Linked DNA regions of Homo sapiens: regions 2 and 3 are each linked to region 1. The links are contacts of gene promoters, found by promoter capture Hi-C in blood cells and fetal thymus (Javierre and others, 2016). All regions are on one chromosome and are shown on one strand. Each heading gives the region's core, a stretch centred on a gene start or on the middle of the fragment in contact. The rest is flanking DNA. Distances are from core to core; before and after follow the strand shown.

Region 1 (3,087 bases), core at 317-2,816:
GGGAAGGGGGCATCCCTGCCCTCCTCAGCGAGCTGGCGCTGTGCCTTGTGGCACCGAGTGTGGCAAGGGCGGCGGCGAGCCCGTAGACGCTTGCAGCAGCAAACCAAGGAGGGAGCTGGAGGTGGCGCTGGCACAAGAGCAGGGTGGCTGGCGACTGAGGCTCAGGTCACCCAGGAGCTGAAAGGACTGAGTGGTGGCGAAGAGAGGCCAGAAACTGAGCCCCTGCTGAGCTTTGTGGCGTCTGTCTCCCCGGCTGACCGAATGCTCACTGTGACCCCGCTCCAGGATCCCCAAGGCCTGTTCCCTGATCTCCATCATTTCTTACAGGTTTTCCTCCCTCAAGCAATTCGACATCTCAAGTGAAGACATGGCCCCTGAAGGGCAATAAAGCTGCTAGTTTATTAATACAGTCTCCCGTTTCCTTTCATTTCCATCTGGTCATAATCCCCCTTCCCCTCCCCCAGAACTTCCTGCAGCTGCTCCCGTCTGACCCCGAACATGGGTCTCTCCCTGTTGCTCTCCACCCCACCAGCTTCTCCTTCCTACAGTTCGCACAGCTCGAGGGGAGTGCGGGGGCAGCACCGCGCGTGGCACCTGGCACCCGCGCAGAGTTCCTGAATGGCAGAGCGGTGGGTGGCTCCAGCAGTACTGAGAAGAGCCAGGTTTGCCTCCACATTCTTCCTGTCGCCTCAGATTTATGCGCACAAGGACGGAGATTTGCGTTCAGCGTTCTTCATTCTCTCCTTTAAACGAGGAGAGTTCATCCCGTTCTTAAACTGGGTAAGAGATTTCAAACCTGAACATGGGTCAAAAGCCATGAACATCAGAAGCGACGATGTCAGGTCTTCCAGCGTCAGCCCCTCCAGGGGCCGAGTCCGGAGGAGGTGGGAGGGACAGGGCGCGTTCTCCCTCATGTCCCTGCCCTGCTTCGGGCCGGAGGGCCGGTGCCCTGCTCGCAGTAACAGCACCCTGGAGCTGTCAGGGGTTGGATGTGAGCAAACCTCACTTTGGCAGGCGGGTTCAGACCGGGGCCCCTGTTAGACGCTCATCCCTTTCTGGAGGAAAAGCAGAGCAGGAACTAAAGGGATTTAGCACACACACTGCCACCTCCGCGCAGCAGCTGTTCCTCGCTCCCATGAGTTTCATAGAATCATGTGAGGGGCTTGGCAAAATCTACCATCAAGTCACTTGTCCCTGGGAGGGCCAGAGAGGGACGCCCCCAGTAGCACTGGCCGCGCCGGGCCAACAACCGCGCCACGTAGCCAAGAACTCGCGGCTTTTCCAGCGGGTTCTCACAACTTCCCCGCCCTCCACGCTGTCTACCTCCACGTCTAGACTCCGATTGGCCCGCTGCACCTGGGGGGCGGGCCAGTCAAGAGCTCCAATGCGCAGGCCCGAGCTTTTTCCGCGCTGGCCAGCAGGCCCCACCCACCCAGTTCTTTTTCCAATTCAGCGCCACTGGATACCGAACTGTCGTACGTATGTCTTCTGTTTCGTCCTCGCTTTCCGGCTGCTGTTTCTCCACGGCTCTCCTCTTTCCCCCTCCCTTCTCTCCCGGGCGGCTTACTTTGCGGCAGCGCCGAGAACCCCACCCCCTTTCTTTGCGGAATCACCATGGCGGCTGGGGTAAGTTTGCTGGCTCTGGTGGTTCGGGTCATCCTATCCACCGCCATCCTTTGCCCGAGTGGGGCCAGTCGGCGCCAGAGGAGTTCTGAGGTTGAGTGGGGAACTGATTCGGGGGTCTACAGACTGTACTGCTGGAGAGTAGGGTTCCTAGGGCCTGGAGGGGAACTGAGGCTGGGGCTCTCGGAGGCCAGAGGTGGAAGGGTCTGGGGAAGAGGAGAAAAGAGATGCCGGGTCTGGGCCGTCCGAAGCCTGAGAAAGGGGTTCGGCTCTGTTGCCGCTTTGAGGCGTGGTATCTGGGCAGGTTGACGAACTTCTGTGTCCGTTTTGTGGAGTAACACAGGGGACAGGTTGAAGAGGAGGGTCTTTGTAGGCAGGTCCGGCTGGCACGGTTAAAGGTCGTCTCTCAGGGAGGTTTGGGAGCGAGAGGATTCTCCGGACAGTGAAGTCAGACCAATTGGACTCCGCTGGCCGGCATAATAGAGAAGCCCAACGCCGGGGAACTCGCTGCGGGACAGGACCGGAGGGATGATATTCGCGACACGGAAAGAAAGGCTTTTTGAGAGAGAGGAGTTGATTTAAGAAGACGGCATGCCATCCCCTATCTCTGGCTAGTCTGAGGGGAACTAGAAATCTCTCGATCGTCGTGCGTGCCTTAGAGACAGGACGATGCTTTTGAAGCGGTGAGCAGCTGAGCAGTAGAGTAGGCAGGCGCTCGGAACCATCAATGAATGAAGCGAGGGCTCCGGGAAGGGAGGAGAGTATGTTTGTAGGCAGATGGAGTCTGATGGAGCTAGAAGTTCTGGATTTCTTGGAGATAGATTTGAGAGGAAGAGAATACTTCCAGAGGTGTCCTTAGGGAAGGTCAAATCTGTCAACAAGCTTTATTTAGCAGTTGGTGTGTAGTTCTGTTCTTGGTATTTCGGAGGATTCTGATTACATATGACAAGTACTAAAGGACTTGGTTCACCAGAGGAAGTAAAAGGGTGAGTTGAATACATTGGGATTATTCAGGAAAGTCATCCTGGAGAGTGGCATTAAGGACTGGGACCCTTCTACTCATTAATTTTGTCCCTCTCTTTCTCCCATAGACCCTGTACACGTATCCTGAAAACTGGAGGGCCTTCAAGGCTCTCATCGCTGCTCAGTACAGCGGGGCTCAGGTCCGCGTGCTCTCCGCACCACCCCACTTCCATTTTGGCCAAACCAACCGCACCCCTGAATTTCTCCGCAAATTTCCTGCCGGCAAGGTGAGTTGGGAGATGGGGAGCATCCTTCGGTTCTGAGAAACCAAGGCCCTGCGATTCTGTCACTCTGGTGGTGGCCCCCATCTCTAAAAGGGAGCTTCCCATGTTGTTTTATTCAATTTCGGTGATTTTATTTTGAGATAAATACAGATTTACATGTAGTTGTGAAAAAAAATACAGAGCTATTCTGTGACTTTATAAAATTCACGAGTTTACT
Region 2 (3,087 bases), core at 1-2,500, 310 kb before region 1:
GCGGATATAGGAGAAGAGTCCAGGCCCAGCGGAGAACGCGTGGAAGTCCCCATGCAGTAGGGAGCGCTCCTTACTCCGCTGGTCACTCAGCCGCCGGAACAAGGAAAGGAGGGAGCCAGGGTCTTCACTCTGGCCCTAAGAATGATAAAAACATAGCAGAAGCGTGTGAGGGGCTCCCCTGGGTACAGACTTCTACAAGCCCAGCCCACCCTCCACCGGTCAGTTTCTACCCATCTAGAACTCTTACCTTCACAGTCATGTTGGCACTTACAGCCCCTGGGATGTCAGGGAAGCTGGACTCATCCCACAGCATGACTGGAGCCTCCATAGGCTGAAAAGCAGAGAAAATAGGACTTTAAAAAGGCCTGGGGTCAGGCATGGTGGCTCACATCTGTAATTCCAGCAGTCTGGGAGGTCAAGGCCAAGAGGATTGCTTGAGCCCAGGCATTTGAAACCAGCCTCAGCAACATAATGAGCCCTCATCTCTACTACAAAATTTTTAAAAATTAGCTGGGTGTAGTGTTACATCCCTATAGTCCCAGATACTGGGGAGGCTGAGGAGGGAGGATCACTTGAACCCAGGAGTTTGAGCTTGCAGTGAGCCATGACTCCACCACTGTACTCCAGCCTGGGCAACAGAGTGAGACCCTGTCTCAAAAAAAAAGCCCTGGGCCCACTGTCCCGTATCCCTCTTCCCATTCACATCCTCATCAATATATAACCTCCCCAACTCATGTCTGGCTAACTTTTTTTTTTTTTTTTTTTTGAGACGGAGTCTCGCTCTGTTCAGGCTGGAGTGCAATGGCACGATCTTGGCTTACTGCAATCTCTGCCTCCTGGGTTCAAGCGATTCTCCTGCCTCAGCCTCCCCAGTAGCTGACCATAGGTGTGCACCACCACACCCAGCTAATTTTTTTGTATTTTTAGTAAAGACGGGGTTTCACCATGTTGGCTAGGCTGGTCTCGAACTCTTGACCTCAGGTGATCCACCCACCTTGGCCTCCCAAAGTGCTGGGATTACAGGCATAAGCCACGACACCCGGCCTGGCTAACTTCTACTGGATGAGTGAGGCAGGCTCCCACCTCAGGGTCCTCACACATACACTGTTGCCCCTCAGCCAAGAGCTCCCAGATGGCTGCCAGCCAGCTCTCTCACTTCCCTCAGGTATCTGCTTGGTTATCTTACCAGGTCTCCTATGGCTACTCTCTATAAAACAAGCCCCATCATCCCCTAGTCTCTAGGCTCCTTACCCCGCCTTCTTTTGCATAGCACTGATCAGCAGCTGGCGTTTTATTTATGCATATCTAATTATCTAACCACCTCCAGCTCTCTTGTGCAATGCTGTATCCTCAGTGTAACAGACAGAAATTATTCTATAAACATCTGTGGAATAAATGAATAACTGGTTCTATAAACATCATGCTGATGGCCGGGTGCAGTGGCTCGCACCTGTAATCATAGCAGTTTGGGAGGCCAAGGTGGGAGGATCATTTGCACCCAGGAGTTTGAGAACAGCCTGGGCAACATAGTGAGACCACACCTCTACAAATTTTAAAAATTAGCTGTGGCCAGGCACAGTGGCTCACACCTGTAGTCCCAGCAATTTGGGAGATCAGGGCAGGCAGAGCGATTGAGCCCAGGAGTTGGAGACCAGCCTGGGCAACAACAGTGAAAGCCTGTCTCTACAAAAATTAGCCGGGCATGGTGGTGTGTGCCTGTATTCCCAGACCACCTGTATTCCCAGCTACTTGGGAAGCTGAGGCAGGAGTATCACTTGAACCCAAGAGGCAGAGGTTGCAGTGAGACATAATCGCACCACTGCAATCCAGCCAGATCAACAGAGCAAGAACCTGTCTCCAAAAAAAAAAAAGATCAGCTGGGCATGATGGCACGCACCTATCTATGGTACATATCCCAGCTACTCAGGAGGCTGAGGTGGGATGATCACTTCGGCCTGGGAGGCGGAGGCTGCAATGAACCAAGATCATGCCACTGCACTCCAGCCTGGGCGACATAGGGAAATGCTGTCTTAAAAACAAAAACAAAAAACAAACAAACAAACAAAAAAAAAAAGTCGGGGATCAACAGTAACCCTGTATCTAAAGCTAGTGAATGCCTTTGTAGTAGTATCCCTACCATGTATTTCTTTCTTTCTTTTCTTTTCTTTTTTTTTTTGGAGAAGGAGTCTCCCTCTGCCGCCCAGGCTAAAGTGCAGTGGCACAATCTCAGTTCACTGCAACCTCTGCCTCCAGGTTCAAGCGATTCTCTTGCCTCAGCCTCCCCAGTAGCTGGGACTACAGGCGTGCACCACCACACCTGGCTAATTTTTGTATTTTTAGTAGAGACTGGGTTTCACCCTGTTGGCTAGGCTGGTTTCGAACTCCTTACCTCCAGTGATCCACCCACCTTGGACTCCCAAAGTGCTAGGATTACAGGCATGAGCCACCGTGCCCAGCCACTGCCATGTACTTCTCCACTTATTTATCTGGCTCCCTCACTAAACTATGAGCTCCTGAGGGCACAGAGCCTAGCACAGTACCCACTGTCCAAAGAATAAAGGAATGAATAAATGAATGGTGGCTACCATAGCAAACATCTGCCAGGTACCAGGCATTACCATTAAAAACATGCCCTCATTTAATACTAACCACCCTTCAAGAAATGCAGTAACACAAGGGATGACCAAAATTCAGAAAGGTAAAATAATTTGCCCAAAGCCACATAGCCACTCAGCTACTGACTAAGAATCAAACGCGTTTTCACCCCAAGGCTCACGTCTATGTGCCGCCATCCCCAGAATCATCATTGTAAGATGGATAAACAACCTCCCTGTGACAGAAAGACAGCAAGCAGTACCTGTCCAGGAAGGGCAGCTGCATCCAGGCCAATCTCATCCCCGTAGCTGAAAACAGGGGTCCCTGGCAGGGTGAAGAGCATCAGCTGGTAGAGTCGGAGAAGTTGAGCCGGCAAGAAGGAAGTCAGGAGCCTTGCCTGAGACAACTACAGGGAGAGACACTCCAGTGAGCCCCATAACCCACCTCTGCCTCTGTCTCCCAACAACCCTTTCTTCTCCCATCTGCCCCCTT
Region 3 (3,087 bases), core at 270-2,769, 260 kb before region 1:
CTCAGGGCCGAAGGGAGAGCGTTGATGCTCCCTGAGGATACTGGAATGATGGCGACAGGCAAACTCTTAGTGACACGGCTTTGAATGGGTGACAGGGACCTGGGTTTCTGCCTTATGTAGTTCATACCTGTAACACACATTTATTGAACACCTACTGAATTCCAGGCACTGGGAGAAGTACAGGGGCTGCCGGTAAAATTTCTGCCTTCAAAAAGTTCTCATCCTCTAAGGTTTTTCACCTGACTCCATTATAATCCTCTAAGTAACCATGGGCAAGTCATTTAATAGTTTTGTGTGTGTGTGTGTTTGTTTTTTGTTTTTTTTTTTTTTGGAGACGGAGTTTTCGCTCTTGTTGCCCAGGCTGGAGTGCAGTGGCGCGATCTCGGCTCACTGCAACCTCCGCCTCCCGGGTTCAAGCGATACTCCTGCCTCAGCCTCCCAAGTACCTGGGATTACAGGCGTCTGCCACCACGCGCGGCTATTTTTGTATCTTTAGTAGAGACGGGGTTTCACCGTATTGGCTAGGCTGGTCTCGAACTCCTGACCTCAGGTGATCCACCTGCCTCGGACTCCCAAAGTGCTGGGATTACAGGCGTGAGCCACTGTGCCTGCTTGTCATTTAATAGTTTTAAGCAAGGCTGGGTGTGGTGGCTCATGCCTGTCATCCCAGCACTTTGGAAGGCCGAGATAGGTGGATCACTTGAGGTCAGGAGTTCAAGACCAGCCTGGCCAGCACGGTAAAACCCCTTCTCTACTAAAAAAATACAAAAATTATCCGGGTGTGGTGGCTCATGCCTGTAATCCCAGCTACTTGGGAGGCCGAGGCTGGAGAATCGCTTGAATCCGTCCCGCAGAGGTTGCAGTGAGCAGAGATCGCACCAGTGCACTCCAGTCTGTGAAACAGAGCAAGACTCCATCTCAAAAAAAACAACAAAAAAAGTTTTAAGCATGCATTCATTAATTCATTATTAATTCATTTATATTTTTTGAGACAGAGCCTCACTGTGTCACCTAGGCTTGAGTGCAGTGGTGCATTCATGGCTCACTACAGCCTCAACCTCCCGGGGTCAAACGATCCTCCCGCCTCAACCTCCTGAGTACCTGGGACCACAGGCAGGTGTCACCCTGCCCAGCTAAATTTTTAAGTTTTTTATAGAGATGGGGTCTCACTGTGTGCCCAGGCCAGTCTCAAACTCCTGGGCTCAACTTGAGCTCAACCACCAACAAGGTGATGTAGCTCTGAAAGCAAAGATTAGGAAGGTGCTAAGTGGTTGGATGACTGGCCTTGCTTTCTTCCAAAGATGATGAAAGAGGGCTGTGAAGCAGGCTGCATAGGTTTGGTGGTGGTAATTCTGACAGGTGAGGTCTGGAAAGCCTGTGGGGGGGACTGGATGTCTGAACTGGTTCTTGAGGGATGGGTAGAATTTTGACTGGTGGAGAAGGGGATAAGGGTATTCTAGAAAGAGGGTACTGCCTGGGAGAGGCCAAGGACTGGAGGCATGCTACAGGGTACATAAATAGGATAAATAGCATTTGATTTGGAAGTTGATAACAAGGAAGCGTTTTTTTTTTTTTGTTTTTTGTTTTTTTTTTATATACGGAGTCTCACTCTGTTGCCCAGGCTGGAGTGCAGTGGCACAGTCTCGGCTCACTGCAACTTCTGCCTCCCAGGCTCAAGCGATTCTCTTGCCTCAGCCTCCTGAGTAGCTGGGATTACAGGCATCCGCCACCACGCCCAGCTAAGTTTTTTTTGTATTTTTATTAGAGACAGGGTTTCACTATGTTGGCCAGGCTAGTCTGGAACTCCTGACCTCAGGCAATCCGCCCACCTCAGCCTCCCAAAATGCTGGGATTACAGGCGTGAACCACTGCACCCGGCCAAGGAAGCATTTTAATACAAGATGAACACTATATTAGGTTGGGATTAAATGTAAAGGGCTTTAAGTGCTAGGTTGAGAGATGTGCACTTTTATTGGTGTTGGTGAGTTATTCATTTATTGTTTTTGTTTTTCTGAGAGACGGAGTCTTGCTCTGTCACTGAGGCTGAAGTGCAGTGGCATGATCTCGGCTCACTGCAACCTCCACCTCCCTGGTTCAGGCGATTCTCCTGCCTCAACTTCCCAAGTAGCTAGGACTACAGGCATGTACCACCACACCCAGCTAATTTTTGTATTTTTTAGTAGAGACAAGATTTCACTATATGTTGGCCAGGCTGGTCTGGAACTCCTGACCTCAGGTGATCTGCCTGCCTTGGCCTCCCAAAGTGCTGGGATTATAGGCGTGAGCCACTGTGCCTGGCCAAGTTATCAGTTTTTGAATAGGAAGTACCATAGTCAGCACTGGGAGCCTGTAGGAGTATGGAGGATGGATTGGAGACAGCAACTGGGAGACTTTTGCCACAGGTCAGGCAAGTCGATACAGAGCCCGAACCCAGCTAGGGAGGGTTGGCAGGTGTGAGAAAGAACATAGGCGCAGGCTGTGCAGATCCTGGGGAGAGACTTGCTTGGACTTCTCGGGAGGGATATTTTAAGCAAGAGACTGACATTTAGTGCCTGAAACTCAGAGCAAGGAACCCAAGAAGTTGGTGTTTGACTTTGACCAAGCCCTAAATTCAGACCAGCCCTAGTAAGCAACTCAAGATTCAGACAGACCAGTACAGCCAGATGCTAGACATAGCTGTGAACAGCAAAAGCACTCTGGAATATCACAGAGTTGATTTCTAGCTGTGGTTGTAACATAGCTGAGTGGCAAATTAGTTTCTCAGCGCTTCTATTTCCTCACTTGGTAAACCCTCACCCTGTTGAGAAAGTTGAATTAACAGATTAGGAAGCTGGAAGCTGTCAAGCCCTGCCTAGAGCCCAGTGACCTAGAGGCTTCCTTCTAAACTGGACTGTTAGTAGGGAATCTGGTTGATATGAGTTTGGGGCCTAGAGAATACTTTTATACTTTTTTTTTTCTTTAAACATTAGTCAACTGTAGTAGTAAGGAGGAGAGAAAGATTAGAACAAGGAGTTTAAGCACTTAAAAAATCCCAACTCTATCCTTTCTCTGCAGCACCCTCATCACATGTGTGGATTCTGGGATTCT

Evidence for each region. The method cuts DNA at HindIII sites, captures the fragments that hold promoters and counts their contacts. A CHiCAGO score of 5 or more calls a contact.
Region 2: a fragment that was not itself captured here is called in contact with the fragment with the promoter of EEF1G in region 1 in 8 of 17 cell types (naive CD4 T cells, neutrophils, activated CD4 T cells and 5 more); the score reaches 8.4 in naive CD4 T cells.
Region 3: a fragment that was not itself captured here is called in contact with the fragment with the promoter of EEF1G in region 1 in 11 of 17 cell types (naive B cells, activated CD4 T cells, monocytes and 8 more); the score reaches 8.3 in naive B cells.

The regions. Positions count from the first base shown.
Region 1 is chr11:62,572,370-62,575,456 of GRCh38, reverse strand. It overlaps EEF1G (eukaryotic translation elongation factor 1 gamma), which reads left to right and starts at 1,566. Exons shown (of 10, transcript NM_001404.5): 1 at 1,566-1,626; 2 at 2,715-2,873. The coding sequence starts at 1,615. It overlaps TUT1 (terminal uridylyl transferase 1, U6 snRNA-specific), which reads left to right. Exons shown (of 9, transcript NM_022830.3): 9 at 1-405. The coding sequence ends at 363. RefSeq lists enhancers at 1-480, 638-697, 481-1,442, 1,398-1,597. The HindIII fragment of the contact is 8,528 bases long and covers 1-2,507 here.
Region 2 is chr11:62,885,379-62,888,465 of GRCh38, reverse strand. SLC3A2 (solute carrier family 3 member 2) reads right to left here. Exons shown (of 9, transcript NM_001013251.3): 7 at 2,858-3,001; 8 at 248-331; 9 at 1-135. Among named protein-coding and RNA genes, the nearest start is that of SLC3A2, 6.0 kb to the right of the region's middle. The HindIII fragment of the contact is 5,324 bases long and covers 1-3,087 here.
Region 3 is chr11:62,836,004-62,839,090 of GRCh38, reverse strand. WDR74 (WD repeat domain 74) reads left to right here. Exons shown (of 11, transcript NM_001369450.1): 4 at 3,055-3,087. Among named protein-coding and RNA genes, the nearest start is that of WDR74, 2.0 kb to the left of the region's middle. RefSeq lists an enhancer at 1-77. The HindIII fragment of the contact is 4,232 bases long and covers 1-3,087 here.